Regions from separate parts of the Homo sapiens genome. Here regions 2, 3 and 4 are each linked to region 1. The links are contacts of gene promoters, found by promoter capture Hi-C in blood cells and fetal thymus (Javierre and others, 2016). All regions are on one chromosome and are shown on one strand. The core of a region is centred on a gene start or on the middle of the fragment in contact, and the rest is flanking DNA. Distances in the headings are between cores, read along the strand shown. Region 1 holds the start of FAXDC2 (fatty acid hydroxylase domain containing 2). Region 2 overlaps SPARC (secreted protein acidic and cysteine rich). Region 3 holds the start of G3BP1 (G3BP stress granule assembly factor 1). Region 4 holds the start of CLINT1 (clathrin interactor 1).

Region 1 (7,995 bases), core at 3,464-5,963:
AATCTCATTTGGGAGGGTATACGTTTTTGTTTTTTGTTGTTGTTGTTGTTGTTATTTTTCATTTTTTTTGAGACGGAGTATCGCTCTTGTTGCCCAGGCTGGAGTGCAATATCGCGATCTCGGCTCACCGCAACCTCTGCCTCCTGGGTTCAAGCGATTCTCCTGCCTCAGCCTCCGAGTAGCTGGGATTACGGGCATGCACCACCACACCCGACTGATTTTGTATTTTTAATAGAGACAGTTTCTCCATGTTGGTCAGGCTGGTCTCGAACTGCTGACCTCAGGTGATCTGCCCGCCTTGGCCTCCCAAAGTGCTGGGATTACAGGCCTGAGCCACCACGCCCAGCAGGAGAGTATAAGTTTAAGAAAATTGAGAAGGCCAGGCGCGGTGGCTCACGCCTGTAATCCCAGCACTTTGGGAGGCCAAGGCGGGCAGATCACGAGGTCAGAAGATCGAGACCATGCTGGCCAACATGGTGAAACCCCTGGATTAGCTGGGTGTGGTGGCACACGCCTGTAATCCCAGCTACTCGGGAGGCCGAGGCAGGAGAATTGCTTGAACCCGGGAGGTAGAGGTTGCAGTAAGCCAAGATCACGCCACCGCACTCCAACCTGGCGACAGAGAGAGACTCCATCTCAAAAAAATTAATAAATAAACAAAATTGAGAAACACTCGTTATAAAATGAATGGGACCCCTTAAGAACCACACAGCTGGCTGGGCGTGGTGGCTCACGCCTGTAATCCCAGCACTTTGGGAGGCCGAGGAAGGTGGATCACCTGAGGTCAGGAGTTCAAAACCACCCTGGCCAACAAGGTGAAACCCCGTCTTTACTAAAAATACAAAAATTAGCCGGGCATGATGGCAGGTGCCTGTAATCCTAGCTACTAAGGAGGCTGAGGCAAGACAGTCGCTTGAACCTGGGAGGTGGAGTTTGCAATGGACCAAGATCATGCCATTGCACTCCAGCCTGGGCAACAGAGCCAGACTCCATTTCAAACAAAAAAAAAGAAAAAAAGATAGGATGGAGAGAAAACCCAGGAAGGCTGGAGAGCTTCTCACTAGACAGATGCTCTTCTCTATAAGGCTTGCTCAGCAATCAACTATTTACTGAAGACCAGTGTTATTAGTGCCAGAGTTATTACTGCCATGGAAATACATAAAGACCCTATATGAAATGATTGTAGGAAAAAAAGTACCTGCTACTCCAGGGAGTGTTGACCACTTAAACTACAAAAGTTCAAGAAGAAAAGAATTAGGCCGGGCACAATGGCTCACACCTGTAATCTTAGCACTTTGGGAGGCTAAAGCACTTTGGGAGGCTGAGGCAGGAGGATCACTTGAGGCCAAGATTTTGGGACAAGGTTGGACAACATAGCAACACCCCATCTCTTAAAAAAAAAGAGAGAGAGAGAGAGAGAAAAGAACTGGAGGCACAATACTTGACAGGAACAGGAAGGAAATTCCAGGTGAGAGGATTAGCGTAAGCAAAGATATGGACATGGAGACAATAGGAAATAGGAAAAAAAGTTTCTGTACATCATAGTAAGTGAACAATAAATGTTTGCACATGACAGTGATGCTTGGCATTAGAAAGTAGGAAGGAGGCCAGGCACAGTGAATCATACCTGTAATCCAACAATTTGGGAGACTGAGGCAGGAGGATTGCTTGAGTCAGGAGTTCAAGACCAGCCTGGGCAACATAGCCAGACTCTGTCTCTCCAAAAATGTTTTTTTTTAATTAGTGGGGCATGGTGGTGTGTGCCTGTAGTCCAACTGCTTGGGAGGCTGAGGTGGGAGGATCACTTGAGGCCAGAAGGTTGAGACTGCAGTGAGCCATAGTTGAGCCACTGCACTCCAGCCTGGGTGACAGAGTGAAACCCTGTGTCTAAAGAAATTTTTTTTTTTTTTTTGAGGTGGAGTCTCGCCCTGTCGGTCGCCCAGGCTGGAGTGCAGTGGCGCAATCTCGGCTCACTGCAACCTCTGCCTCCTGGGTTCAAGCGATTCTCCTGCCTCAGCCTCCTGAGTAGCTGGGACTACAGGCGCCCGCCACCACGCCTGGCTAATTTTTGTACTTTTAGTAGAGACGGGTTTCACCGTGTTAGCCAGGATGGTCTCGATCTCCTGACCTCGTGATCCACCCGCCTCGGCCTCTCAAAGTGCTAGGATTACAGGCGTGAGCCACTGCGCCCGGCCAAGAAATTTTTAAAAATAGGCCAGGTGCAGTGGTTCATGCCTGTAACCTCAGAACTCTCACCTGAGGTCAGAGTTTGAGACCAGCCTGGCCAACATGGTGAAACCCTGAGTCTTCTAAAAATACAAAAAAAAAAAAAAAAAAAAAAAATTAGCCAGGCGTGGTAGCAGGCGCCTGTTGTAGTCCAAGCCACTCTGGAGGCTGAGGCAGGAGAATCGCTTAGAGGCAGGAGAATCGCTTAAACCCAGGAGGCGGAGGTTGCAGTGAGCCGAGATTGTGCTACTACACTCTAGCCTGGGCAACAGAATGAGACTCCATCTCAAAAATAAAAATAAAAAAATTAAAAAATAGAAAGTAGGAGGGAATAGGAAATAATATCATCTGAGAGGAGCCAAACTAAAGTGAGTCTTGGAAGTCTGGTAGCACAGGTTTGTTCAGTGCACAAGATAGACTTGGTCAGCTGGAAAATATAGACATTCTGCAATATCTGGAATATTGAAAAAAATTAGTATCTCTGAAAGGAGAGATGAGGAAAAACATGAACAAGTTGTACAAAATGTAATTAATTTGTGAGCAAGCATTGAATGTTTACTGAGCCCTTGCTTTGTGCAACGAATTAGGCAAGGAAAATGAGGAAGACATGGTCCTTTATTGGCCAAATAAAGTATGACACATCTATACAATGGGACGGGAGGCAGCCATTAAACAGAACATGGCAGCTCTTAAGGGTACTATATGGAGCAGTCTCCATGTTTTGTTGTTGACAGTTTTATTTATTTTAGAGACAGGGCCTCATTATGTTGCCCAGGCTGGTCTCTAACTCCTGGGCTTAAGAAATTCTCCTGCCAGGCCAGGCACGGTGGTGGCTCATGCCTGTAATCCCAGCACTTTGGGAGGCTGAGGTGGGCAGATTATGAGGTCAGGAGTTTAAGACCAGCCTGGCCAATATGGTGAAACCTCATCTCTACTAAAAAAAAAAAATACAAAAATTAGCCGGGCCTGGCAGCGCACACCTGTAGTCCCAGCTACTCGGGAGGCTGAGGCAGAAGAATCGCTTGAACCCAGGAGGCGGAGGTTGCAGTTAGCTGTGATCATGCCATTGCACTCCAGCCTGGGTGACAGAGCAAGACTCCATCTCAAAAAATAAAAAAAAGAAATCCTCCTGCCTCAGCCTTCCAAAGATTGCTGAGATTACAGGCATGAGCCACTGCACCCGGCATTTTTTATTTTGTTTTGTTTTTTAGAGACAGGGTCCCACTCTGTCACTCAGGTTGGAGTGCAGGGCACAATCATAGCTCACTGCAGCCTCCAACTCCTGGGCTCAAGCCATCCTCCCACCTCAGCCTCCCCAGTAGCTGGGATAACAGACATGTGCCAGTAAGCTCTACTAATTTTTTGTATATGTAGTAGAAATGGGGTTTTGCTACATTGCCCAGGCTGGTCTTGAACTCCTGGCCTCAAGTGATCCTCCCGTCTTGGTCTTCCAAAGTGCTGAGATTATACATGTGAGCCGCCGTGCCCAGCCAAGTTTCTGAGTTTTGTTTATTTTAGAAAGGAGTCTTCCTGTGCTGCCCAGGCTGGTCTCAAATACCTGGGCTCAAGTGATCCTCCAACCTCAGCCTCCCAAATAGTTGGGACTACAGGTGAGCACCACCATGCCTAGCCAATCTCCATGTTTGATTGTTAAGTGGAAAAAGCAAGGTGCACAACAAACATACTATGGTGCTGTTGCTAAAGGAGAAGCACAAGGCCTACACATGTTTCTATTTACAGAGGTAAGCTCTGGAAGGATATACAAAAATCTGGTCACAGAGGTTGTCTCTTGGGAGGAAAAAAAGGGGACTGAGGAGAAATTAAAAAAAGACTTTTCATTGTACATTCTTTTGACCCTATTGTATTTTATATCATTTGCACATTTGCTTATTTAAAAAGTTTTCAGAAATTTAAAAGCAGCTCTTTTTCCAAAGTGCTCCTCACTTCATGTCATGGGTCCTGTATCCTAAGTTCCCCTATTTCAATCACAGTGCAAATTTACCCTCCACAGGCATGCCTTTCCTGCATCTAGACTCACTAGAAATAGCTGATGCATCTCTCCTCCCTTGCCTGCCCTCCACAGGAAAAGAAGCAATGAAAAAAAAGAAAATGAGATCCTCTGGTCTCTGTCACCTTTTTATCAACTTGTACTACCTGCCATTATCTGACACCCACATCTTTTCTTGAATCTGCCTCCTCCTATGGGACAGCGACATTTTCTTAAGTTGCAGATGATGGAGAAAATTTTTTAAAAGAAAAAAAGGGGGCAGGGGGAGGGAAGCCCAGAGTTTGGCCAAATGCACGTTTTTCAAGTTCCTGCTTGAGCTTAGATTCCCTTTCCGCTTTAAGGACATGCCCTCTGGAAAGAAGGGTGTTTTGTTTCCAGCCCACACAGACCCAAACTTTTTTCATCACGTGCCTGGTCCGAGCCAGTACGCAGCTCTGTAATGAGATCACCATGGCCAGCCTCCCACCCGAGCAAAAACAAGGTTAGCCTGCAGCAGAGCCGCAGCAGCAACAGCCACCAAAGCGGGGGCTGAAAGGGAAGAGAACTTAGATTTGACCTGTGCAAGGACCTCAGCAGCTTGGACACAGCCCACTGCAGAGGTAAGTGGGAACTACGGGGGAGGGGTGGTGTTTGCAAAGGTCAGGACATGTCCAGGTTCACTTAAAGTAAGGGCAAAACAACACTCTTCCCACCTCTGCCACCACCCTGTCCTCTCTACTTATGGCAGGGTTAGATTTGCCTCTAAACAGGGTTAGATGGCAGGGTTAGAATTTGTCCTAGGACATTGCTGTAGTGCAGTCGCCTCCTTGTCTCTTACTAATGTCTGTATCCTCTGCCTGTGTTTGTACCATCTACCTCCTCAGTAGTCTAATTTTTCTAGCAATTGACAGGTGATTGTAATGGACAAGTAATTGTTTGACTTTAAAACCATTTGTAAAGGAGCAACTCCTAATTCAGAACTCAAATGAGAGGCAGAACAAACTGGAAGAGACTGTTGGGAAGCAACTGCTGCCTAATTGCTTCTCATCTCTACTCTGCCATCACCAGGAAGGTATGGGGCAAAATACAACAGTTTTAAAGTCTCTGGATAGATGTGTGGGCTATGAGCTAGACAAGTAGGTTGAAACTGTTTTGATGCAACATACTTGGATTTACCAACAGTGGCTCCAGTTGTGAAATCGTTAGTGGCTTGATAGTACCTATGGAAACACTCCACGAAGGTTATTGAGTAAAGGGCATACAGTAAAGTGTGTAGGTGGAGATGAACAATAGAACAGTGGCTTTCAGGACCTTCTGGGGCTTAAGGCAAGCAAGACAAGATGCTGATTTGTGGGTTGCTTCAGTTTCATGTGCAATTCCAATTAAATTTCTTTGAGTGGGATATACAGATTCAATTCAATTTGCTAAAACACAGATGCACTGAGCATCAGCTTCTAACTTTAGTTACGAAAGTAATTAGCACAAGGGAATGGTGCTAAAATGTTCCATAGCAAATGTTGAACACTTTTTGAGGGCAAAAAGCAATGCTTTTGATTCGTGTATCTCTTATTTATTCGGCAAATCTTTCTTGAGTATCTTCTACATGCCAGGCTTGGGCTTGATTCTGTGGATCTCGTGGTAAACAAGACAGGCAGATTCTCGGCCTCATGGACATGCAATCAAGCAGAACAGTAAGCTCAAAGGGTGCAAGTACCATGCAGCAAAAGGAGTGAAGAGAGTATTACTAAAACTGGCCCATGGGAATCATTTTTAACCTTTCCTTTCATGCATTTCATCTTCTGTTTTTGTTTTTTTTGTTTTTTGAGATGGAATCTCGTTCTGTCACCCAGGCTGGAGTACAGTGGCGCGATTTCAGCTCACTGCAACCTCCACCTCCTGGGTTCAAGAGATTCTCCTGCCTCAGCCCCCCAAGTAGCTGGGATTACAGGTGCCCGCCACCACACCCAGCTAATTTTCGTATTTTTAGTAGAGATGGGGTTTCACCATGTTGGCCAGGCTGGTCTCCAACTCCTGACCTCAGGTGATCTACCCACCTCGGCCTCCCAAAGTTATGAGATTACAGGCATAAGCCAACGTGCCCAGCCGCATTTCATCTTTGTTTTTTTTTGTTTTTTTGAGACAGACTCTTGCTCTGGCGCCCAGGCTGGAGTGCAGTGGCATGATCTTGGCTCACTGCAACCTCCGCCTCCCAGGTTCAAGCGATTCTCCTGTCTCAGCCTCCAGAGCAGCTGGGATTACAGGCGTGCACCACCACACCCGGCTAATTTTTATATTTTTAGTAGAGACGGAGTTTCGCCATGTTGGCCAGGCTGGTCTCAAACTCCTGACCTCAGGTGATCTGCCCACCTCGGCCTCCCAAAGTGCTGGGATTACAGATGCGAGCCACCGCTCCTGGCCGCATTTCATCTTCTTAAATGAATATCGGCCACTCTATCTTCTATATAAGCCTCAGATTAGTACAGATGTTGAGTCATAGCAGCTCCTCAAAACCCTCTTCACCAGAGGCTTTAAACTGTGTAATTACATTACAGGTCAGTCTCCTCAGCCCTGGAGGTCGACTGCTCAGCTTTTTCCTAGCATACAGTCTGAGAGCAGAGGCTGAAGTAAGGGGAGTTCTAATCTTTGGGTCAGTTGCCCTCTCCCTGTGTCATTTCTTATGAAATAGAAGTTATGCTATTCCCAAAATACATACAGCACTAGGCAAAGTGTTAAGAAGCCTAGATTTTGCCAGAAACCATGTGGAGTTTGGAGCAAGTCATTTCTACTAACTAGGGCTTCCTCCTTAGCTTATAAAATGGAAGGGGTAGACCAGATGAACATGAGGTCTTTTTTCTCCCCCCTCTAAGAGTAAATTGTCTCAACAATTTTACAAGTTGTTTACAAAACAATACACATTCACATAAAGGTGATGTATTTATATCTATAAAATAGGAACATTCAGTAGGCCGGGCATGGTGGCTCACGCCTGTAATCCCAGCACATTGGGAGGCCGAGGCGGGCGGATCACAAGGTCAGAAGATCAAGACCATCCTGGCTAACATGGTGAAACCCTGTCTCTACTAAAAATACAAAAAATTAGCCAGGCGTGGTGGCAGGCACCTGTGGTCCCAGCTACTCGGGAGGCTGAGGCAGGAGAATGGCATGAACCCGGGAGATGGAGCTTGCAGTGAGCCAAGATCGCGCCACTGCACTCCAGCCTGGGTGACAGAGCAAGACTCTGTCTCAAAAAAAAAAGGAACATTCATCAATCATGCAGAATATCCAGGAAACAAGAATATGAAAGAAAATCTGGGCCAGGCGCAGTGGCTCATGCCTGTAATTCCAGCACTTTGGGAGGCCAAGGTGGGTGTATCACCTGAGGTCAGGAGTTCAAGACCAGCCTGGCCAACATGGTGAAACCCCGTCTCTACTAAAAATAAAAAAATTAGCCAGGCATGGTGGGGGTGGGTGCCTGTAATCCCAGCTACTTAGGAGGCTGAGGCAGGAGAATCGCTTGAACCCGGGAGGCAGAGGCTGCAGTGAGCCAAGGTCATGCCATTGCACTCCAGCCTGCGCAACATGAGCGAGACTCCATCTCAAAAAAAAAAAAAAAAAGAAAGAAAGAAAGAAAAAAGAAAATCTGAAAGAGTTGGGCTGTAGACAAATAAAATTCAAGATTAAACCGTCTGTATTCCTTCCAGCCTCACCTTATTCCCATGTCCTTTACTCAGATTCTTGAAGTTGTAAACATTAGCTATAGCTTCACTGTGTCATTTATCTAG
Region 2 (7,995 bases), core at 4,918-7,417, 3.2 Mb after region 1:
AAAAGATTTCAGCTGTTTGAAATATCGGACTCTGCAGAAGACTTCATTGAAATAAAGGATTTTCTGGCTTACATAATTTTGAGCACTGACCTTATACAGACAAGCTGGGGGTGTTAGTTCTGGAGAGCAGAGGAGACTCCCCTGAATTCGCACAGTGAGCTGGGAGACATGCTGACTTGCTCTCAGCTCTCCTGACTTCCACGTCATGAGGCCACCTCTGAGCTGCTGTGTCTGCTCCCAGGGGTGTGAGCAGGAGTGCCATTGTAGCTGCATGTGGCCACCTCTCTGGCCTGCCTGGCTCGGTCCCCATGTCAGCAGACCCCAGGCTCCTTCCGAGTCCCAACTCCCTGGAGGGCCTGGCTCTTGGCTTCCTTTATTAGCCTCTAGGCTTGTTTTCCTCTCTTTGGGCTTGTTTACCAGCAACATGTGTTTTTGGAGCCCTTGTTTCCAAGCCAAATAGTGAGAGTGAGATGCTTGGCTGGTATCAGCTGCCCAAGTAAGAGGCCAGCCCTGGGCCTGGTCTTCGTCACTGTATCCTCTGGAGGCTGGACTTACCCAGACCAACAGGGGCAATATGTCCTTTGTTCCACCCAAACACCCCTTTCTCCCTGGGCTTATAAAGCACTGGAATTTTGCACTGAATTCTTTCGGGGGATGGAGATTCTGGGAACCTCGGACTTTATAAGATGCTCTTCCCAACGACAACATTGCTTACCTCTTTATTTGGATTCTCTTGTGTAAATCACCCATGAGCCTTTAAAGATTGGTATGTTATTGTTTCCATTTTACACATTGGGGAACAAATTGAGGCCCCAAGAGGTAAAGTTGATTTCTAAAGGTCATACAATTACTAAGTGGTGAGCCAGGATTTGAACCTGTATATTCTGGCTCCAGAGCCTATGAGCTTACCTTTATGCTATACTGCCTCATAGTTTATTATCACTCTGTCTACCATGGTAGCCACTAGCCACATGTGGCTATTTAGATTTAAGTTGATTAAAATAGATGGGCATGGTGGCTCACGCCTATAATCCCACCTCTTTGGGAGGCTGAGGCGGGCGGATGGCTTGAGGTCAGGAGTTCGAGACCAGCCTGGGCAACATAATGAAGCCCCATCTCTACAAAAAAGAAAAGAAAAGAAAAATTCGCTGGGTGTAGTCACAAGTGCCTGTGATCTCAGCTACTCGGGAGGCTGAGATGGGAGAATCACTTGAGCCCAGGAGGCAGAGGTTGCAGTGAGCTGAGATTGCGCCAACCACACTCCAGTCTGGGTGACAGAGGGAGACCGTGTCTCAAAAAAAAAAAAAAAAAAAAAAAAAAAAGATGTTTTCCACTATTCTCTATTGCAGTATTTCAACAAGGTATGGGTTAAGTAAGATATTTTGGATTGGCCTCAGTCCTTTTGCATAAAATTTTTAAATAAAAAAATTGGTTAAAATGAAATACAATTTAAAACTCAGTTCTTCATTTGCACTGGCAACATTTCAAGCATTCAGTAACCACTTGTAACCAGTAGCTATCATAGTGGACCACGTAGATATAGAATGTGTTCATCATCTTGGGAAGTCCTGTTGGGTTGCATTACTCCATAAGTTCTTTCCACCCAAATAAGATTTAATGATGGCAACTCAGTTTCTTTGCTTCACATCCTAAGTCTATCATTCTGAGACCCACAGTCCATGATTCTATGATTCTGAGGTATCCCCCCTGTTCTAACGTTCAGTGGCTTTTTAACGTCCAAGGAGAGCCCAAAGGAGGCCCTTTATGTTTTGAGGGACAAACCTGGGGGCTGGCTGTACTTTTCCATCCTCAGAGTCTTTCCAGAGAGAGAAGTGACCTCAGCTTCAGGTCCTGCTGGCAGCCAAGGACGGGTTTTCAGCAGTCTCCAGAGCAAATAAAGGCAAAAGGAAGGGACTCGATGTACGGAACAGGAGGCAGTGGCGGCTGGGAGGGGGCTAAAACTGTCTGCATTTGATGGCCACCATGCCAAGGGAAATATGCCTTCTCTTCCTCCCCTGGCCCTGGGCATTTTCCTTCCCAGGAACTCAGGCCAGTTCAAGGCCCAACTGAGCCCCATTCAGGTGACCACCTGGGAGCGGGTAGCTGCCAAGGGAAATAGTGTGCAGAGGTAGAGACATACCAGTGGTGGGGTAGGGTTGCACGGGTTCTCACCCTAGCCCTGCCACCCAGTCACTCACTCACTGCTGTTAGCCGTTGGCAGTTTTCTCCTTTCCTCTAGGCCTTGGTCTTCTCATCTGTACTATTGGGCAGAAATATGTGACTTGAGCCCCCAGTGGGGTGCTGGATTATGAAAACACCCTGAAAATGATAAATGTATGCATCATCACAGACTAAAGAAATACAAAGGAGGGAGTTTTTGTTTAATATTGGTCATTTATATGAAGGGAATTTAAATTTTCGCCAGGCACGCTACACCTAGGTTTGATTGGCAAAGGATCACAGCTGTGAGTTCTGAATGCTGGGGTTTGATACTGTGTTCTGACCTTGCTGGGGTGACTGTTATACTCCATTAGCTTTGCAGGATGGACACAGGGCTCTTTGGTCAGTGGTAGTTTAGAGAGCCTCAGAGAGGTATCTCGTGGGGAGGCAGGGAGATGGCTGTGCATCTGGAATAGTTCAGCCGCTTCCCTTCCCTCCCATCTCATCATCTGGGGGAAAAGTGCTCTTGGACTGGTGGTGTAGCACCGGGTGCTGGGCAGGACCCAGATTTTGTGTTTGTGTTTACAGTTTTCTTCCAAAACTTTTAAGGTGTATTCCAAGATTTTGCGTTCTGTTCTTAACAGTCTCTCTGCATTTCTCCCCCACTCCCACTTGTCTGAGCGTAATTCCTATTAGGCTCACCCCAACTCCATGAGTGAGAACGCTTGCCTATTTGGAGAGGGCCTGAATTGTTGCATGACTTTGGACAAGTGCTTCCTCCCTCTCAACCTCAGATTCCCCATTAGGACAGTGGGACTAAGAACCCTTCCATGCCTGTCTGCCTACTTCCCAGCATTGTCAGAAGGCTCTAGGAGACAGTGTTATGTGACAGTGCTTTAGAAACTATGAAGCAGCACTATAAGACTTAGAGTTATTTTTCTCTTCTGGCTGCAACAGCAGGGATGGGGGTGGCAGGGAGGGTGAGTGTGCAGCTGGAAAAGGAATTCAGGAAGATGAGGAGGCAGGACAGACAGAAGAGCCGCCCAGCGAAACCTTCCCCTGGTCACAGAGGGGAGCGCGGTTACTCTGCTCATATGAAGGACGCAGACTCAGGGAAATGTCTGTCTTCCTGTCTTTCTAATCTGAAGCTTACTACATTTCCAGTCCTAGCTGGGCTATTTCTTCAATAACATGACTTCCCTGTCATTATAGCTCAGACAGGGTAACTTTTTGTTTTGTTTTGTTTTAGCTGCTATTTCACTTTGATCCTTCAACCTCAAACTATCTCAGACAAGTCCTTCCTTGATGTTTTCTTTTCTGTTCCATTTGTCCCAAGCCACATGCAGGAGTTATTTATCTTGCGTCTTCCAAAAGGGGAAGCAAGAAGGGAGATTTTTCCACTTAAGCCTGGGGAACAAGTGAACAACTGTGTGAGGGGAGGAACATTCCACAAGCTGCCTCAAAAGGGAAGACTAGACTCCTCTGGAAGTTGGGGTTATTGTGAAGCAATACCAAACCCCCAGGTCCTTTACATTTCTGTTAGTTTTACTTCATTCACTCTGTGCAATAGGGGGTGAGGTTTTGTGTCTCTTTAAGCCCAAGAAAGGACCATTATGAAGTGGGCTCTTCCTCTGCCTGTTTCTGCTTCCCAAATGCTATAGTACAAGTGAAGACATATGATCCCAGAGGAGACCATATGTGTCAAGACCAGAATGTGCTTGGGGTGTCTTAAGAGCATTTTAAGGACCGAGGCTGCCACTTCAAAGTTCACCTAGTCTACCCATTTCAATTGATAGATGGGGGAACCAAGGTCTAGAGAGACCAAAAGACTTGATACTACTGTGGTAGAACAAGACCCCCTGGCATTTAATTTCAAGCTGAGTATTTTTCTCCATGATGCCGGGTTACCTCCCACCACCATTTGGTCAGTTGAGAAGTCTTGGAAGAAATAAGGGATGATGAGCCTGACAGGGAGGTTTTGGGAGAAGAAAGAGGGAAGACATGGCCACTGTTGCTCCTGATGGAAGGTTATTTGTGGGTAGAGAGAGCAGGTTTGTTCTTTGTGGCTGCAGGGGAGATGGGGTAGACAGATCAGAAAGTTTGAGGGAGGCACATTTAGATCAGTAAAAGAAAGAACTTTCTAAAGTCACTTGAGAATGAAAAGCCATTTAGTTAGTGCAAGAAATGAAATGTCTCCACCACAGAGCCTCTGTTAGGAATAGCATTTTAGTTTTGAATCCTCAGAGGAGATACTGCTCCAAAATCCCTTATAGTCATGAGAGTATTAGAGTCTAGAGCTTGGCATTTAGAGAATGAGGCCTTAACAGTTACCAGAACAGAGGTATTTTCTAGATCTCAGCTAACATCCCCTCTGCAACACATGGAAGCATCTGGATGGTTTCCGTACAGGACCTAAAGAAGTGCTGTCTCTTCTGGGTAGAATGGAGAAAAATGTGGCCACCCTCAAGTTTCCATGGGTTACATTCCAAGACTATTGTTCTTTGTTTTAGAATGTGGATCTCATTGTCCCAAACTGGCAAGAAGTTCCTGCCTATTAACTTCTCCCATTGCAGAGGGAGTAGGAAGGAGGGGGAGGAGGCGACAGAGGAGGAAGAGGAGAGATTGGGTTTAGGGAAAAAAATAATTTTAGAATATCAGGGATTGAAGGGACCTTGAAGATGATCTGGTTTGGCATTGCCCAAACTTAACTAGTTAGCCCATCACCTTAGTTGAATCACTTTGCAAAAACTTTAATAAATGTATTACAAAAGCAGATTTTATATCACTACCATAAATGGAAAAAACTCTGTGTACCTTTGTCATAAATAGAAGGAAACTGTAAAAACAAACACATAAAAAAAACAAAACAACTTGATTCAGTTCCAGCTGGATATAACTTCCTGTGGAAGCTCTGAGCTGGAGGCTTATTCTCTTTTTGTTAAAAAAGGAGATAGATGAGTATAAAGGAGGTGTTTAAGACATCTTGGCACCAAACTGAGACTTTCTTCTCATATAAGCAGAATTGAAAGAATATTAAATGGAACCAACCTCCTCATGTTTTTCACTATCATTTAACTTGTACCATCTAACATTATCTTGCACATATCAGGAATTCAGAAGGAAATCTCCATAAGGAAGTCTCACCCTCACTGAACTCTCAATCTCTCCTCCCCATAGGGTTCCCAGCACCATGAGGGCCTGGATCTTCTTTCTCCTTTGCCTGGCCGGGAGGGCCTTGGCAGCCCCTGTAAGTACCTAAATATCATGTCTTCTTGTTTTCATTCCTACCGCTAGCACCAGGGGTTCTGAGCCTGCCAGCCCTGGATGCTGAAAGGGAACAGGGACTTCCCCATTTCAAGTTAGTGGTCTTTTTTTTTTCTTAAGTTAGGAAGCTCGGGATAAAAACTGGGATGAGGACCATTGGGTGGAGGTATCAGAGAAGAGAGAGTTCCATGTAATGTTAGATAAACTTCTTAGTAGTCAGAGCCTCCCAGCAATGAACTAGGATTGCTTTAGAAGGAAATGACCTCTTTGTCATATGAGGAATTCAAGCAGGCAGGAGACAGGATGTGGGGGATTTCTGGTAGGGGTGGTATTAGAAGAGATTCAAGCTATAGAGAGAGGAATGTGTTGGCTTCTGAAACAGTGAGGGTTGTTTGGTTGTAAGCAACAGTTCAATCTGACTAAATTGGGGAAGGAGGGGAAGATACAGAGGTAGATTATAATATTAAAGGCCTTGGGGAGGACTGGAAAAGGGCAGCTCTAGGCTTTGGGAGTTAAGAACTAATGGACAGTCTCTGAGATATTGCTGTCTGAATGAATCAACTCCAGCAATTTTCACATCTTGAGAGAATGTGCCAAGAAGGTTTTTATAAATTCAAAAAATGAGAGCCAATCTGGCTGAGCTTGGGTCCTGAGCCAGCTTCTTGGCCAGGTGAGAGTGGGGCCCCTTGATTGACAGACAGTTCCTCGAAGCATTGCATGCAGGGACAGGAGTAGTTATCCACAGCTCATCTGGAAGCCTTCACAAGGAGAGGAGGAAGAAACAGGGCAGGCAAAAAGTGCAATTTCTTTCAACCTGTGATCCCCTCATCCTCTGTTTACTAAGAAGTGGGAGTGATGGCAGACCCTGGCAATCTTGATCAGGCTGGTAGATGGAGGCAAAAGTTTCTCAAAGTTGGCATTAAGTTTTGAAGCAGCTCCAGCCAGCTAAGGGCCTCAAAGTTGTGTGTTTTCTTGCTTCCTCCTACTCCAAGTTGAAATGGCAAGAAAAATTGCCTAATAATACTACTAATAATATCACACTGTGAGGAAGATGATGACATCTGTTAAAATTCACAGTGTCATCCCCTCTGGATGTCAATTTTCCTATCTGTAAAGTGAAAGAATTGGTCTGGATCAGTGATTTTCAGACTTTATAAGAATTCAAAGCAGCAGAAATACTTTTCCAAGCTAAATCTTAGGTAGACACCTAGGATATAAAATATATAAAATGGGAGCTGCTTGAGTGTTCCACGGTGCTCACATGACTGGCTTCTTCTTTGTTCTGTCCCTCACCATGGCAGTCCATGAGGCACAACTTTGGGGATCTCCAGTAAGCTGCTCTCCAAGCTCCCCTAGCCTGTATCCGAGGCCACAGGCACTTTGGAGGTGAAGCTGGCCTTATTCCTGACCCCTCTGAACGCTACTTTCTCTTTCCAACAGCAGCAAGAAGCCCTGCCTGATGAGACAGAGGTGGTGGAAGAAACTGTGGCAGAGGTGACTGAGGTATGTGGGCAGTGACCGCAGCCCCTTAGCCCCTCTCTACCTGTATCTGTGCCCTGAGAAATTAGGGCGGATGCTGTGGGTCTCAATGCTAGAGTGGGGCATTCGTCTCCCTGTACACACATAGCATAGATGCAAACCCTGAGTATATCCCACATCCTGACACACTCCTGAATGCTTCCCAAACCTTCAACGGAACCCTACGTTTGGGGACCAGGACCTTAAAATTTTTGTTTTTTAAGCTATGCAACAGTTGTTCTTCCATGATTACCCACAGTTTTTGCAAACGTAAAACAGAGGAGGCCGGGTGCGGTGGCTCATGCCTGTAATCCCTGTAATCCTTTGGGAGGCCGAGGCAGGCAATTCACGAGGTCAGGAGTTCAAGACCAGTGTGGCCAACATGGTGAAACCCTGTCTCTACTAAAAATACAAAAAATTAGCTGGGCGTGGTGGCGGGTGCCTGTAATCCCAGCTACTCGGGAGGCTGAGGTAGGAGAATCGCTTGAACCCGGGAGGTGGAGGTTGCAGTTAGCCAAGATCTCGCCACTGTACTCTACCCTGGGCGACAGCATGAGACTCCATCTCAAAAACAAACAAACAAACAAGCACACACACACACACACACACACACACACACACACACACACAGAGGAAAGGGGAGATGCTTGGGTGTGGCTGGCAGGGGTGGAGGCTTGACACCCTCTTGTGAACATAGATCTCAGTCAATTTAGAAAGTTTACTTTGCCAAGGTTAAGAATGTGCCTGTGACACAGCCTCAGGAAGTTCTGAGACATGTGTCCAAGGTGGTCGGGAGTACAGTTTGCTTTCATACATTTTAGGGAGACACGAGACTTCAATCAACATGTCTAAATTGTGCATTGGTTGAGTTCGCTAAGGCAAGACAACTTGAGAAGTGAGGGCTTCCAGGTTAGAAGTAGATAAGAGACAAATGGTTGCATTCCTTTGAGTCCTTGATCAGCCTTCCCCTGAATACACAATTTAATCTGGCTCAGTGAATCTGCATTTTTACATAAACAATAGGGGAGAGGAAGCAATCAGATAAGCGTTTGT
Region 3 (7,995 bases), core at 2,336-4,835, 3.1 Mb after region 1:
TCAAATAAGGAATGGATATTAAGTTGTGGTTTATTCACATTAGGGAAACTTCTATACCTAAGACAACCATATGAGAGCACTTTTAAGATTGAAAACAACTACTATTAATAGTGTCAGGTTAACTGAAGTGAATCAGGACTGTCCCTGGCAAACCAAGACATATGTCACCCTATTTATGCCTGCCAGAAAGCGAGCACATAACTCAAAAACATTATTAAAAAGAAAAATCAGTTGCCAAATATGTACTGTGTGATAACGTTACATATATTTAAAAGTGTTTTTAGTATACACAAATACCAGATACCGTACATAGATACACAGGCTAGACATAAAGAGACAAATGGATCCATGAAACAGAATGGAGTTCACTAACATATCCACATGGACAACTATATTTCCAAGAAAAGTGCAAAGACAATTCAGTGGAAAAAGTATACTCTCTTCAACAACTGGTACTGAAACAATTAGATATCATATGGAAAAAACAAAAAAAAACCAGAACCTCAATTCATGTCTCACACCACATACAAAATTTAACTCAAAATGATTCAGTGTAATCAAAGTGTAAAACCCAAAACTGAACTTCTAAAGAAAACTTGCATGACACTAAGCAAAGATTTTAGACACACCAAAAGCAAATGAAGAAGAAAGCGAATTGATCACGTAGACTGCCTCAAAATTAAAACCATCTGCCCTGCAAAGACACCATCAAAAGAATGAAAAGGCACGCAGGCAAGCCACAGATTAGGAGTAAATATTTGCAAGGCATTTACCTGATTGATTGACTGACTGATTTTTTTTTTTTTAGAAGGAATCTTCCACTGTCGCCCAGGCTGGAGTGCAGTGGCGCTCACCGCAACCTCCACCTCCCAGGTTCAAGCAATTCTCATGCCTCAGTTTCTCAAGCAGCTGGGATTACAAGCACACACCACCACGCCCGACTAATTTTTGTATTTTTAGTAGAGATGAGGGTTCACCATGTTGCCCAGGCTGGTCTCGAACCCCTGGCCTCAAGTGATCCACCTGCCTCGGCCTCCCAAAGTGCTGGGATTACAGGTGTGAGCCACTGCGCCTGACCCATATCTCTAATTTTTAAAATACCTCTATCCAGAATATATAAAGTACTCTCATGCCTGTAATCCCAGCACTTTGGGAGGCCGAGGAGGGCATATCACCCGAAGTCAGTAGTTCGAGACTAGCTTGGCCAACATGGTGAAACCCCATCTCTACTAAAAATACAAAAATTAGCCGGGTGTGGTGGTGGATACCTGTAATCCCAGCTACTCAGGAGGCTGAGACAGGAGAATCACCTAAACCCAGGAGGCAGAGGTTGTAGTGAGCAGAGATGGCGCCACTGCACTCCAGCCCGGGCAACAAGAGCGAAACACTGTCTCAAAACAAAAAAATTAATAATTAAGTAACCAATCCCATAAAATATGAGCAAAAGACTTAAAGATATTTCGCCAAAGAAATTATATGAATGCCAAATGAAAAATGCTGATCACTAGCAATTACAGAAATGCAAATTAAAACCTGTGAGGTACCACTAAACACCTGTCACAATGACTAAAATTAAAAAGACTGACCATACACACTGTTAGCCAACATACTGGCAGAACTGGAACCCCCCAAACATCGCTGGTGGCAATGTAAAATGGTACAACCACTGTGGAAAACAGGGAGTTTCTTTAAAAGTTAGGCATACATCTACTACATGATCTAAACATTCCCCTATTAAGCATTTACCCAAGAGAAATAAAGGCGTATACCCATACAAAGACTTGTACACAAAGTTCAGAAGCTTTATTTGTAACAGTCAAAAAGCTGGAAACACACAGCTTCTGCCGTTTTTCAATGCCCACCAACAGGTAAACCAAAAAATTGTGATATGCCTACACAACAGACTAGCACTGAGCAATTAAAAAAAGAACATAATGTATTTACAAAAAAATTCTAAAAAACGCAAAGTAATCTACAGTGATAAAAAGATCAAGGATTTCCTGCAGGGAGAAGGGTGGAAGGAACAAGCAAGAAAGAGGGAAAAGGGACATGAGAAAACTTTTGGGGGTAATGGATAGGTTCACAATCTTGATTGTGGTGATGGTTTCATGGGTATACCTTCTTTTAAGAGTCTCCTGTGTCGCCCAGGCTGGAGTGCAGTAGCATGACCATAGGTCACTGCAGCCTCAAACATCTGGGCTCAAGTAATCCTCTCTGCTGCCTCAGTCTTTTGAGAAGCTGGGATTACAAAAGGTGTCTGAAATTATCAGGCAGTACATTTTAAAAACATGCAGTTTATTGTCAATTATACCTCAATAAAGCTATTTTTAAAAATTCCCCATCAATAAAACAGCCTGGAAAGATGTGAAAAAGATCCCTGGAAGGAAGGGAATGGAAGCCCGTATAGAAAAAAAGGAGTCTTAGAGGGCAATGCAAAATGTCAAATGTTAATTCTGAGTACGATAGTATTTAAGTGGTCTTTTTACTTTAAAAAAGTTGTCAAAAACACCAAGGAAAAACAGCAAGTGTTTGTGTGTACTAACTTGAGAATATATTAAATTTTTGTAAATTTTGTTTCAGGATTATGTCATGTATTCAAACATTTGATATCTGGTTCTCTAAATCGTGGGAATTTAGAAACAAAATCTTTTCCCAGAACTGGAGTAACATGAATACAGAAGCCAACATCTGTGCTCAGAGCAAGAAAAGTATCAACATCACTGGGCCTACTGTCAATCTATTTTTCCAAACTCTTCGCATTTACCACCTGTCACCTCCCTTCACAATTCTTCCTGACGCCTCCTTGGAGAAATGGTTGATTCTGGACCTGAGACAGGCAAAATGCAAGATGAGCCTGAAATACCTGGTAATTAATGAAAGAAAAAACATGCTTTTAAAAAACAGATAAGATAGGGAAGTGTCAAAAGGACAAAGGAGCCAAAAAAAAAAAAAAAAGCTGGAACAACATGAACAACAAAATAAACTGTGGCCAGCACAGTGGCTCACACCTGTAATCCCAGCACTTTGAGAGGCCAAGACAAGAGGATTGCTTGAGCCCAGGAGTGTGAGACAGCCTGGACGATATTTTATAAAAATATAAAATAAATAATAATCAAAAATAAGTAAACATCAGCAAGGATAATTGTGGATTACAACCCAAAGAATAAAATTAATATCCGTGGTCTATAGTGATATAAATGAAAAAAAGAAAAAACATGAAGAATACACAAATCTTCCTCACAGAAAATTTATACTGTAGAAGGAATGAGGAAAATAAAAAAAATCACCATTAGAACCCCGAAGTAATAATAGCTGCAGACGAGATCCATTAAAATGCTAAAATTAAGGAGGGGAACTTTATTTCCATGGCTTCGAAGCATCTCCCCCAAAATAATAACAGTAGCTTTAATATACTTCCACAAATTCACATTCTCCTCCCTCTAGAAAGTAGAGCCTAATTCCCCTCTCTCCTTGAGTGTGAGCTGGACTTGGTGACTAGCATCTAAGGAATAGTATCTAAAGGGGAAAAAAACACTAACCTGACAGATACCACCTGAACCAAATCATCAGGTTAAATTCAACCAGTTATATATTATGGACCCCCAATCTGATGTGATAAGGGTAATTTCTGTGGTATTCTTCCCCCAAAAATCTGTAACTTCAGTCTAATCCTTAACATCAAATCCAAATGAGATCAAGTGTCATGGTCACGAAAGACAAAAGGAAAGACAGAAACTGACACAGATCAGGAGACTACATACAATGTGGCATCTTGGACTGGATCCTAGAACAGAAAAAGGACATTAGTAGAAAAACTAAGGAAATCCAAATAAAGTCTTTCATTAACAGTATTTTATCGATGTTAATTTCTCAGTTCTGTTAAATGTACTTGGATTACATAAGATGTTAACAGTGGATAATGGGTATTCAAGACCTCTCTATTGCAACTCTTCCACAAATCTTACTTTATCTCAAAAATACTGTTTTCCTGAAAGAAAAAAAACTTCAGGAATCAGAATACTTAACAACTATCTTTTATCTTAGTGTATCCCTTCCCCACTCCAAAGTTAAAACCTACTCAGGTTCACAATTTAAAAAAATCTTTGTTCTTTCTCATCACGTGAAAAGATATGTTACAGTTAATACTAATGCTCATCCGCAAAATTCTTAAACAGATCAAGACAGGTGGATACACTCCAGGGAAATCTAGGCAACCTCAGTGCAGAAACAAGGGTGTACTTAAGGCACAGCCTATGGCTTTGCATAAACAGCATATGGGAGAAGCCTGCAAGGGCAGGCAGGTGTCACATTCATACATTCCAGATTCAAAATCCCTCTAAGATTTTTCAATTAAGGAAATAAGCTGGCTATAGTACCCTATTAGGTACCACATGCTTTTCAAAATAGTTTTGACAATTCGGTTTCAGAGCTCCAATTCACTTTTTAGTAAAAGTATGGTAATACCAAAGATGTGTGAAAGCACTCTCTAAATATGCAAAAGGTTACACAAATACATAATGATGCTTTATATAGCCAGTGAAGTTAATAGCCACCAAAGATTACATCCCTACTAAGTAGATGTGTATACCATCCAGGAAGCCAAATTTCTGTCAATCATCTTTAATCTTTACTTTTGATTAAGTACCTAAGATACAACACACATACCAAGAACTTATTACATGACAGACTGGCCACCTGACAGAAGAGGGACTCTATCACAAAGTCGCCTAAAGACCTTATTTACTAAGCTACAGGCTGTGAGGGCAATTTTTTTGAAATTGCTTTCCACCTTGTAAGACAGAATATTAAGACACTATTCGTGTGTGTGAATTATTCCTACTCTTAACCCTATCACCTGGCTTGCAACTTGACCTTCCCAACTAAAGACAGACAGGATGTCCAAGAATACTTTTTTAAAAAAAGTAAATAGCTGATTTCTGAGATATAAAATTATAAACCTAGTGTGCCACCACATTGTGATCACCAACTACATGTAAGATAATAGTTGCTGAATCTAAATTCAACTCCAGGGCTTGTACTGGAGTACTGGAAGGGCAGTACTGCACTACCAGAGATTTTTCCCACTTGCTTTTGACAAATTACTGGGGGGCGGGCGAGGCTTTCCTTTTTTTTTTTGACCTACCTACTTCCACAATTATCCATTCTTCTTTGTAAAGTCAGTAATAGTTTCGTCCAAGGAAGCCAAAGCACAATATAATTAAACAAACATACAATGCCTATTTAAATTCTGAAAGTTAAAAAAAAAATCAATTTGCAAAATGTTAAAAGACCAAGTGGGCAGTTTTATCAGACTGACAAAAATAAAGAAAAAAAATATAAAATTGGCTTTAGTCACAAATGTAAGCTTTATGTTAAATTTTATCTTTTAACACTAGCCCCATCAGTCCTAAGGACGATATAAAATTCACAAACTTTTACAAAAACTTAAAACTGCCTTCTGCCGTTCACTTTCTATGCAAAATACTAGAACGAGTGGGAAAAAAAAAAACCATAAGTTACAAAAGAAAAACTGCTCTAAGTAGGTCACAAACAAACATTACCAAAATCTCCTAATGTTCCCCTGGTGCAGTGTCAGCTCAGGAACAGCAAACTGAGTTAAACAAAGAACTGTCTACTTTTCTACCTGTAAGAGGTACAAAAGCTTAGACTTTTGTACCGGTAAGCAGCTCCAACAAAACTGACGTATGACTTGGTAGGGATGTAGGGCAGCCTTGCCAAGCCTTACATTACCACAATTTGCTTCAATTCACTTGTTCCTGATAAATGCACAAGTAATCAGTTAGAGCACCAGTTTGTGAAATAATCACGTAATTTTCATGTTCCTGCCCAAGTGATAACCATTTGCCTGAGGCCAAGAACTGTATTTTTTTAATATTTTAAGTAGAAACTAACGAAATTTTCCCTCAATAATGTGTAAGGTAATTTCATTCTATTTTGCCTCAAGCAGTAATAAAATTAGCTGGACTCAAGCTTAAACAGTTTAAATGTAGGTCATTCTAGTGTTTTTCCATTTGACAACTTAAATTGCTCAACTTTAAGTCTAAGTTAAAATGCTAATTCCATAGTTAACCAGTCTGTAAGGGCAAGTAACCGGAATCGCCACACCAGCAAAGTTCCAAGTAAATGTTACTTGGAACATTATTATAATACTGTTATAGAAACATGTTTATAGAAAGGGTTTCCAGAACACGATTATAGAAATCTTTATGTTTATAGAAGTGTTTCTATAACATAGAAGATTTATTTCACTAAGCCAAGGAGTATGTTGGCTTTTAAATAATCTAAAAGATGGTAACTACTAGAAAAATATAAGCTCCAGTCCCTGAAGAAAAGCATCTTGTTTCTGCATATACACAAGAACCCAGCAGAGTAAATGCTAAATAAACGGAGTGTACACAAACTTTCATCCACAGATCTCGACTGTCACAGTTGTTTTTTCCAACACATCTCCAACACCAGTAATTCATCCAGCATGACACGCTCCACAGAGGTCCAAATAGTATACTGTAACTGGGCGCCAACCTTTCTATTCCAATTCCGTATTTTAACCCACAGATGCTAGTGAGATCTTAAATTCGTCGCTTTGCACCTCATTCCCTTCAACTATAAAGTGAATCTTCTCAAGGTCTTTCTGCAAAAGTCTCCTCCAATTAAAAAAAAAGTAGAGAAAAAAAAATTCAACGTCTAAAACCGGAGCCTAACTTCCCGCTGGCGGGAATTTCCCATCAGCAATCTGAGATTCAAACCCGATGAGGAACACAGTCCATGTTCATTTGCACTTACTCATCGTTTTCCCTACTTTTTTCCAGAAGCTACGGTGGCGGCACATCTACCCAGGGCCTGTACAAGTACACGTAGAAAGGAAGCCCAAACCCTTTTCCTTTGTCACATTCCCACTTCCAACCCTTGTCTCCCTGGAAGCCCAGAACTAGCCCAAGTACAAATGCCGCTGCAGCCTTCTCGGCAGGTGGCCTTTTGAGGCTGATGCTGCCCCGAGGGACAAGTGCTCTGGGGGCAAAGACTAAAAACAGGCTTGGGAAGCGGGGAGCTCGGAGTCAGAGGGCCCGGCGTCAACAAATCCCCGCCCTTCCCGTGCGTGCCTGTGACCCCGCTCTCCAAACCCGTGCCTTGGGCCGCTAAGGAAGGAGGATAGCCGTACCCACCTCGCCAGCTCACTGCAAGAATCAAATGAAAGGCAGAAAAGTGGCTCCGCACAGTGCCGGACACACAGTGAGGGCGTGGAAAGAACATTGGTTGTTACTACCACTCCGTGCACTCGCTGCTCCCTCTTTGCTCTCTGCAAAACCGAAGGCGCTTCTGCGACGCGCGGACCGCAAGACTCCAATCAGACTTTAGTGCTGCCCCCACCCTAAACGAAAGCCTCCTTCTGGTCCGAACCGACTGGATCCCTTGGCCAGGGGAGGAAAAGGTGCCGCGGGCGCGTGGCGGAGAGGGTGGCGGGCGGGAAACGCTGGGCGCGGGACCCCTGGCCCCAGAGACCGCCCTGGGGCCCAGGCGGCGGCCGCGGCTTACTCCTGCCCCGCGAGGCCGTTGGACGCAGCACGCGCACGCGGCGGACACGGCCACGCGCCCCAGCCGGGACGGGAGCGGGAGCGAGGAGCCGCCGCGCGCCCGTCCGTCCGCCGCGCGCGCCTGCGGCCGTTGGGGTGGGGGTTGGGGTGGGGGACGCGACTGGCGCGGCCGCCGCGAGCGCCACTCAGACTTCTCCCTCTCACAAGTGCTGCGGCTCGGCTTAGTCCTCTGGCCTCCCTGCCCCGCCCACACCCCGGCGTACCTACGCGGCTGAGCTGGAGAGGAACTAGCTCTGCACCACAGCACCGAGGATAGTACAAACCCCTCACGCAACTGCGTCCGCACACACGCGTGCTCCGCCGCCGGTCTATATAACTGCCACTCACCCTAACTTGTTGCGGCCAGGTCGGGCGACGGGATGACCAATCCCGACCGCGTCCT
Region 4 (7,995 bases), core at 3,036-5,535, 3.0 Mb before region 1:
CGTGTGTTGGTTTGGCCTTACTAAAAGTGTCAGCTCATTTAGTAAAAAATATATGTTTTCCTGAAGAAGAGTGGGTGGAGCATTTTCTCATTTATTTTTCTACCATGAACATATTTGAATTGCCACAAAGAAGTTACTATGGAAACTGCTCTCGAACTTGCAAGATAAAAGGTAAAAATGGAACACTTTGTTGAAATGCAAATAGTCTCTGGAGATCACTTTTTAACAAAGTCTCCGGGTCTGATTTTTCTGAGTCCTTTAAAGGCTCTCTTGAATTAGAAGCGGACAGGCAGATTTTTTGGCTTTACATTCCAGATGGCTCCAGCTGACTGTGCAAATGTCACAGGTGACAACTCTAGGATGGGTCTAGACGTATGCAAACTTGGTTTTGGAATGAGCAAAGAGGCTGACAGTGCCCTGCTGTGAACACCCAAACAGGCCCAGGGGAGGGAAGGTGGTTGTTTCTGGGCCAGGCCCGTTCTGCAGGTGTACTCTGGACTCACTTGTTTGAAAGTTAACTTGCTGAGCTCTTATTTATGCAAAGTAGTTTCTCTTTCTTATCTCCTCTGGCCACATTCCATCTCTGGGATCTTGAGCTGGATAGTCTTTTCAACAAAAAAACACAAACTTCTTATTTGAAAGCCCTATTCCTCTACCCATCTCTGCTCATCTTTACCTGCCTCTCCCCACCCACCTCTCCAACTCACTTCATATCAGCCCAAGTACTCCTACCATTACAAAGCTCTGAGATAACTTTGGATTTCTGCTTGTTGTAATTTTCTGCCTGTCAATTCCTTCAACCTTGCTTCTTTCTCTTGGGGCCTCAATCCGAAAGCCTTACTGAAACTTTTTTCAAAGCTGCTTTCGGTAATTAAGTGAATGCAACTTGGAGAGGGTTTCCTGTAGTCTCAGCTACTTGAGAGACTGAGGTGGGAGGATTGCTTGAGCCCAGGAGTTTCAGATCAGCTGGGGCAACAGAGTGAGACCTCCAGCTCAAAAAAAAAAAAAAAGAAAAAGAAAAAGAAAATAGAAAAGAGGTGGTTTCACTTGAGGGACCAGGGTCCGAGGTTGTTTATTTGGGATTATTGTTACCTAGCTTCATGACTAGCAACCATCAATTTCACTTCTTTGTGAATTGGAGTCTTTATTTGATCCTTTCGAGGGATCCTTCCATTTCAACCTCCTAAGTAGCTGGCCTCACAAGAGTGTGCCCCAACGCCTGGCTTTTTTTTTTTTTTTTTTTTTTTTTTTAAAGACTGGGCTGGCAGGGGGATCTCACTTTGCTGCCCAGGCTGGTCTCAAACTCCTGGGCTCAAGTGATCCTCCTGCCTTGGCCTCCCAGCCTCCCAAAATGCTGGGATAACAGGCGTGAGCCACTGTGCCTGGCCTGTAATGAACTATTGTAGAACCTAAGATTGGCCTTTTAAGACGTCTTTTCAGGCTTTTGCATTTCTGACAAACGGATGACCCCACCCAGACCAGCCACTCCTCTGCTGGCCCTCCATCAAGAAGCCGATTCAGCAAAGGAGAACCATTTTCCATACTCCTCTGATTGCATCCCTAACCAATCAGCAGCACCCATGCCCTAACCCTCTGCTCACCAAACTATCTTTGAAAAACTCTAGCTTCCAAATGTTCAGGAAGATTGATTTGAGTAATAACTCTGTCTCTCAAGTGGCATGGCCAGCCTCATGTCAAACTCTTCACTGCAATGACTTGGTCGCAGTGAATTGACTTTATCTGTAAAGTGGGCAGAAAGAACCCGCTAAGCAATTACACTATATGCAATTATCTTAAATGTTTCCTTGATTATTATATGTTTCTTCCAATTACGTTTGAATTCCAAGAGAGCTGGGTCTTTAACTATATTCCCCACTTCTGGAACATACAAGATGCTCAATAAATATTTGTAGAATGAAAAGAACTGTAAAATTTCAGCAGATGGATCAAATGAAACTTAAGGTTGCTTGTAGCTTTAACATGAGCATTGATAAAAATGAGTAAGTAGAGAAGGAAGTGATGACAACCATTGCAACAAAGCAATGGAAGCAATGTGCATATTTATCCTTAAAAAACACAAACCTGTCATATGTATGTGTATGTGTGCGTGTATATATAATGTTGGCTTTTTAGTTTCCCGTGGAGTGTGAACTGAGTTTCTGAGGTTTATAGTAAAGCATTTAACAAGGATTTCAGGTAGTTGTCTAAATATAAAACATTGTATCATAGAATTAGAGCGGAAAAGGATTTAGAATACAAGTTCTTCAATTTTACAGGGGTGGAAACTAAGGCCTAGAGATCTAAGTGTACTTGGGCATTGGGAAATAAATACAGCGATGTGTCTGTCGATGAGGAATGCGTATGCCAATCATACTTCTGTATAATCATTACTAATAACATAGTAATACTGCCTTACATTTGAAAAGTGTTTGAGTGTGACTAGACCCTGCACCAGTGGTTCTGAAACTTGAGCGTGATCAGAATCACCTAGAGGATTTGTAAAAGCACAGATCGCTGGGCCCCACCTCCAAAATTTCTGGCTCGGTAGGTCTGGGGCCGGGGACTGGGAAAGCTTAAGAGAAACCATCCCAACTCCTCTCAGCTCTCCCAACTCAACCTCTCAGCTCTCCCAACTCAACCGGCCGAGCTCGGCACTCAGGGAAAACTACAAGTCCCGGCGTGCCCCGCGCGCAGCGGCGGAAAGTCGGACACTTCCGCTCCACGCAGCGCCTGTGCTGCCGCGTCTCGACGTGTCACCGGCGGCGCCGCTGCTGTGGCAAAGGAAGGAGCTGACTGGGGGAGTTCGAGGCGGCGGGCGGCGGTGACCCCGGCCTGGAACTGCCCCGGTACGGAAGTGTTCCGGGGTCCGTGGGGAGCAGGAGAGGGAGGCGGCGGACCGTCCCGCGCGGGGCACGATGTTGAACATGTGGAAGGTGCGCGAGCTGGTGGACAAAGCGTGAGTATCGGGGGGCAGTTGTGGCCGAGGCCCACGTGGGGGAGGGGGGAGGGGGAGAAGGAGCTGGCCTTGGGCTAGGGGTTGCCCACGTCACGCCCCCTGGCTCTGCCAGCCCCATCATGGCGGCGGCCCGCTCCTTCCCGGCCCCGGGCCTCATCCCCGCTGGCGAGGCTGGGGAGGGACCCTCCCTCGTTTTAAAAAAAAACATCCTCTTGGCCACCCTTCTCTCCTTTCCAGGCCTTCCCGTCCCTTCCCCTATTCCAACCCCTGGGTGCCGACGCTTTGGTCATAAGGGGCGGGTTGTTTGGCGCTGGGTCACTGCCCTGGCCGGAGGACTGTCTTGGCCCCAGGCCGTGGGCTTTGCCTCCTGGGGAGCAGGGAAGGTTTGGGGGTGGGGGGCACAATGCACTGGTTCCCTGTGTCCCTCAAGGTGTAGTACGGAGAGACCTTAGACCTGGTTGGGGTGTGTCTTTTATCTTCCTTGCCTCCTCTTAATTCCTAATGAACCTGAAGTGTTGGAGTGGGTGGTAGTAGTGTAACAAGTGGCTATTGTGGTCAGCCTGAAGTTACTCAAGAAGACACTCATCCTTTGCTTTTCTAACACTAGTGAAAGTAGATCACTATATGACTTCTTGCGATTTTTTCTTCTGTTTCTTTTTCCACTACACATCATTTTTGGTGTGCTACTTGTTCCATTCGATTAAATTAAGAGGTCATTAAGAAATGTCCTCTTAAGGAAAAAAACAACCCAGGTTTATATCCTGTTGATCTGCTTTTAAAAGCAGGTAAAACGACCAGTACGTAGTTGATTTCCTTTAAGACTGAAATAACTTTAGTCTCTTACTTGCACAAGGAAAACCTTAACTTTTAAAATGAGTATATCAGGTATAACAGTGGTTAAGTAAGGTCTTCTAGGCCAGCAGGAAATAAAGTTTAAGAATTTAAGCAGTCCTCTTCCTTTGGGGCTTTAATGATTATGCAATAAGTGTGGTGAGAAAAACAGTTGATTTGTGCCACCCACCTAACCTAAAATCAGGAAGTATAGATAGCAAACTGTTTTCTTGACACCAGGAAACAAAGTAATTTCCAGTGCCTTGTCTGATACATCAGATAGAACTTAGAGCTTGACCATATTTTTATATTTTCTGTGCTACCAAGAAGGCAATAGAGTGCCTAAGGAGCACAGGTTTCAGAACCTGCAAAGCTGGGTTCAAGCTTTATAACCTTGGGGAAGTTACTTATCCTCACAGTGCCCTAGTTTTCTCTGGTACAAAATGAAAATGCAACGATACCTACCTTAGAATGTTGTTGTGAGGCTTAAGGGTTAAGGGATTGTATTGCATATAAAGCCCTTAACAGAATATGTTTATATTAGTGTACTTTTGAAACTAGCAAATGTTTTGCATTTAGAGTGAAATAAACCTCTTTAAGAAAGAAGCTTCAAGTTTGAAAAGTGATTTGCTTTAATAATTTTCCTTTATAACAACTCATTTGGCTATTAAGGCTTCAGCTATTTATTTCGGACTATTTAGCTATTTATATATTCTTTGCTTTTGCTTACCGAAGATGAAATAAACTAGATCTTTTCCAGATCTAGGTTCATTGGCATTTTTTTAGTATATTGTGTAAAGATTAGGATATCAACTTAAATAGTTTTTTAAAGGCCAAAAGAAGACTAAAAGCTACCTTTTTTTTTTTTTTTTTTGATGGGGTCTCATTCTTTTGTGTGTTCATAACTCACTGCACCCTCCAACTCCTGGGCTCAAGTGATCCTCCCACCTCAGCCTCCCAAGTGGCCAGGACTACAGGCATGCATCACCGTGCCTGGCACTGCCTCCTTATTTCTCAGTCAGAGGTCAGAAGAATAAAACCATTAAGAAACACCTTGTTCTCTTAGAGGACCAAATTTGTGGTACTCAAAAATTTGAAGAGGCTGTACATTGTTCGTAAGACAGAAATCGAGGCAATATTCCTACTATTGTTGTACCTTTCATATTTGCTTATCACACTTGTTACTAATCTTCACGTGCTTTAGGTTAAATTTGCCATGTAAGTAGTTATCTAAAGGAAAAGCTATTGTTGAAAAATATTATCTATCTTTTTACTACCCAATTTAGGATGTAGACTTGAACCAAATTATTCAAGAACATAGAAGAATGTTGTCACCAAAGACTTTTTAAGGCTTTTGTGGGTGTCTGACACATATTAAGATTAGAACATGAGGTTGATTTACTGATGAGTACTCGGGATTTTAATTTTCATCTTTTCACTGGCAAGAAGAGAAGAAATTCTTCCCCCCAAATGTAAGCATCTTACAGAACCGTGGATCTGTTAGACTGTGCACCTTATAATGCCATAATAGACGTGCATCCATAGAATGGTTGGTCTGATTATCAGAGGTATAAAATGATGAAGGAACTTGCAAATGAAGAAGCAGTGACGTGATTAAGGGCTATTCAGATAGATGGATCAATAGAATGAGGGCTTCTATGAGAGAAAGGTTAGGGGTTTAACTATCTGGTTCATATTCTGGCATTACGTTTTTAATTAGCTGTATGTATGATTTGAGGCAGAATCACATGAATCTCCAGACTTTGCCTTCCTTATCTGTAAAATGAGGGGACCTGGCTAGAGTAAGACTTTTTCCACCTTTGATGGCTATTGGAGAAATGCATTTCCATCAAGGAAAAATAGTTGGAACTAGTTTTTACAATAGCAGACAAATTTTGGAGCCATTATCCTCTGTAGACAATTTAGGCTGAAAAGGGAAATTTTCTTAAAAAGTGGTAATCAATAAATGTTATACTTAAATATTTTATGCAATAAATAAGACCATGACTCAGGAAGACTAGGACTTTTAGTGTATATTGATACCCAGTGAGGTTTTACTTCAGAAAAAGAAATGTACTCTGAAAAATGTGTTTCCTGGAGCCACTCTTAGATTCAGTATGGTAGCGGCTCTTAAGTGTAATGATGTATTTCTTTTTTTTTTTTGAGATGGGGTTTCGCTCTTGTTCCCGGGGCTGAAGTGCAGTGGCGAGATCTCAGCTCACTGCAGCTTACACTTCTGGGGTTCAAGCGAGTCTCCTGCCTCAGCCTCCCTAGTAGCTGGAATTACAGGTGCCTGCCACCACACCCAGCTAATCTGTGTATTTTTAGTAGACACGGGGTTTCGCCATGTTGGCCAGGCTGGTCTTGAACTCCTGACCTCAGGTGATCCACCCATCTCAGCTACTCAAAGTGATAATGATGTATTTCAAACACTGGCTTTTGAGACCTTGAAGACTTTTTCTGGAAGTGGGGGTATATTTTCCACAATCGCTGCACCTCCTGGTGGCAGTAGAGGGATTTGTTTTGCAGAACATTGTGGAACTGAGGGAAGCAGATAAAGCCATAGGCCTGCCAGAGCTTGGAATGCCAGTATCTTCCCACTCGTCAAGTTGCATAAAAGGCGATGTGGCAGGAAAGGATAAGTGGCACCATTCCCACCAACTAGGAGCACTAGCTTAATCATTGTCATCCTATGACCTATCTTTACTTGTGGCTGTAATAAAATTGGACATGTTTATATTTTGTCATCCTATACATGGTAAAATTGAAAGTTGCTGCAGTTCTATTTTCTCTCTAGATTTGAGGAATGTAATGAAGGTGACATGGTAGTGGTAGATCAAAACTGCTACTTATTTGTTCAAGCTCAGCGAATCCTTCTCTTTCCTTGCAAGGAGTAATATTAGTGGTAAATCTCTTTCATCAGTGACCCGCCCCCCCCCCCGCCTTTTTTTTTTTTCGGAGACAGTTCACTTTATCCCCCAGGCTGAAGTGCAATGGCGTGATTTCAGCCCACTGCAATCTCTACCTCCCGGGTTCAAATGATTCTCCTGCCTCAGCCTCCCGAGTAGCTGGGATTACAGGCGTCTACCTCCATGCCTGGCTAATTTTTGTATTTTTCATACAGCTGAGGTTTTGCTGTGTTGGCCAGGCTGGTCTCAAACTTGTGACCTCAGGTGATCCACCCACCTCGGCCTCCCAAAGTGCTGGGATTACAGGCATGAGCCACCTTGCCCAGCCTCAGTGGCCCTTTTTTTGATAGTGATTCAAACAGCTCTGGCTAAGGTCCTAAGGCAACAGCTATGGGTAGTCCATTTTAAGTTATTCTCCTAAGCATAGCTTGCATTTTCCCTCATAAGTTGATTTTTATTGATGTATATTTGCTTGGTTTTAGTTCCTAAATGTTTAGATAATGTAATAGAGCTGTAGAAACTGCTGTTCTAGTCTCCTGACTCCAGAGGGAGAAACTTTTGCTTTTATAAAGAATAGTATATTCATTTATTTTAACAGGCAATACATTTGTTATTTATTGGATTAGTAGTCTGGTTTCTTTTTATTTTTTATTTTTGAGACAGGGTCACACTCAGTTGTCCAGGCTGGAGCACAGTGATGCAAACATGCACACTGCAGCTGGGACCACAGCTGCGCCTCCATGCGTGGCTAATTTTAAAAAATTTTTTTGTGGAGAAGGGTTCTTGCTATGTTGCCCAGGCTAGTCTTGAACTCCTGGGCTCAGGCAGTCTGCCTGCCTCAGCATCCTGAAGCGCAGGGATTACAGGCGGGAGCCATTGCGCCTGGTCTAGTACTCTATTTTCTGAACTCGAAACATACAATACCTGCCTTCAAGAACCTTGCCACTACAAATATGCTACAACTTGAATGGATTATTTTTCTTTTCTTTTCTTTCAGTCTTCAGATATCATCCCCTTTATTTTCTTTATCTTACCAGTAAATCTCTGTTCAGTTTGCTTCTTGGAATTTGAAAGCAGAGATAGTAAGATAGTTGTCAGCTTTCTAGTCTTCCCATGTCAACTTTTCTTTGAACCGATTATAAGTAATTGTTATTGCTGAAACAATGAATTAATTATTCTCCTCCTTTTCTAGTAACTGGACACAAGTAGATATTAGGAATTTAATTCCAAAGAAAGATGAGTTTGGTTTATCTCTGCTAGCATTTCTTAGGGGTAATTTTCTGTAGTTTAATCTATTTA

What was found. Contacts are between HindIII fragments. The CHiCAGO score rates a contact against its expected background, and 5 or more counts as called.
Region 2: a fragment that was not itself captured here is called in contact with the fragment with the promoter of FAXDC2 in region 1 in 1 of 17 cell types (M0 macrophages); the score reaches 5.1 in M0 macrophages.
Region 3: a fragment that was not itself captured here is called in contact with the fragment with the promoter of FAXDC2 in region 1 in 2 of 17 cell types (erythroblasts and naive CD8 T cells); the score reaches 6.8 in erythroblasts.
Region 4: a fragment that was not itself captured here is called in contact with the fragment with the promoter of FAXDC2 in region 1 in 2 of 17 cell types (naive CD8 T cells and naive CD4 T cells); the score reaches 6.4 in naive CD8 T cells.

Annotation. Positions count from the first base shown.
Region 1 is chr5:154,847,321-154,855,315 of GRCh38, reverse strand. It overlaps FAXDC2 (fatty acid hydroxylase domain containing 2), which reads left to right and starts at 4,713. Exons shown (of 9, transcript NM_032385.5): 1 at 4,713-4,833. The HindIII fragment of the contact is 21,500 bases long and covers 1-7,995 here.
Region 2 is chr5:151,673,544-151,681,538 of GRCh38, reverse strand. It overlaps SPARC (secreted protein acidic and cysteine rich), which reads left to right. Exons shown (of 10, transcript NM_003118.4): 2 at 5,338-5,407; 3 at 6,865-6,927. The coding sequence starts at 5,351. It overlaps CLMAT3 (colorectal liver metastasis associated transcript 3), which reads right to left and starts at 4,594. Exons shown (of 5, transcript NR_109873.1): 1 at 4,492-4,594; 2 at 2,203-2,319; 3 at 1,783-1,883. The HindIII fragment of the contact is 5,714 bases long and covers 3,311-7,995 here.
Region 3 is chr5:151,771,858-151,779,852 of GRCh38, reverse strand. It overlaps G3BP1 (G3BP stress granule assembly factor 1), which reads right to left and starts at 7,899. Exons shown (of 12, transcript NM_005754.3): 1 at 7,817-7,899. LOC100652758 (a long non-coding RNA gene) reads left to right here and starts at 7,677. Exons shown (of 2, transcript NR_132345.1): 1 at 7,677-7,995. RefSeq lists silencers at 7,273-7,342, 7,393-7,722 and an enhancer at 7,931-7,995. The HindIII fragment of the contact is 3,564 bases long and covers 1,804-5,367 here.
Region 4 is chr5:157,853,891-157,861,885 of GRCh38, reverse strand. It overlaps CLINT1 (clathrin interactor 1), which reads left to right and starts at 2,741. Exons shown (of 12, transcript NM_014666.4): 1 at 2,741-2,956. The coding sequence starts at 2,916. RefSeq lists enhancers at 2,453-2,692, 2,530-3,111. The HindIII fragment of the contact is 223 bases long and covers 4,174-4,396 here.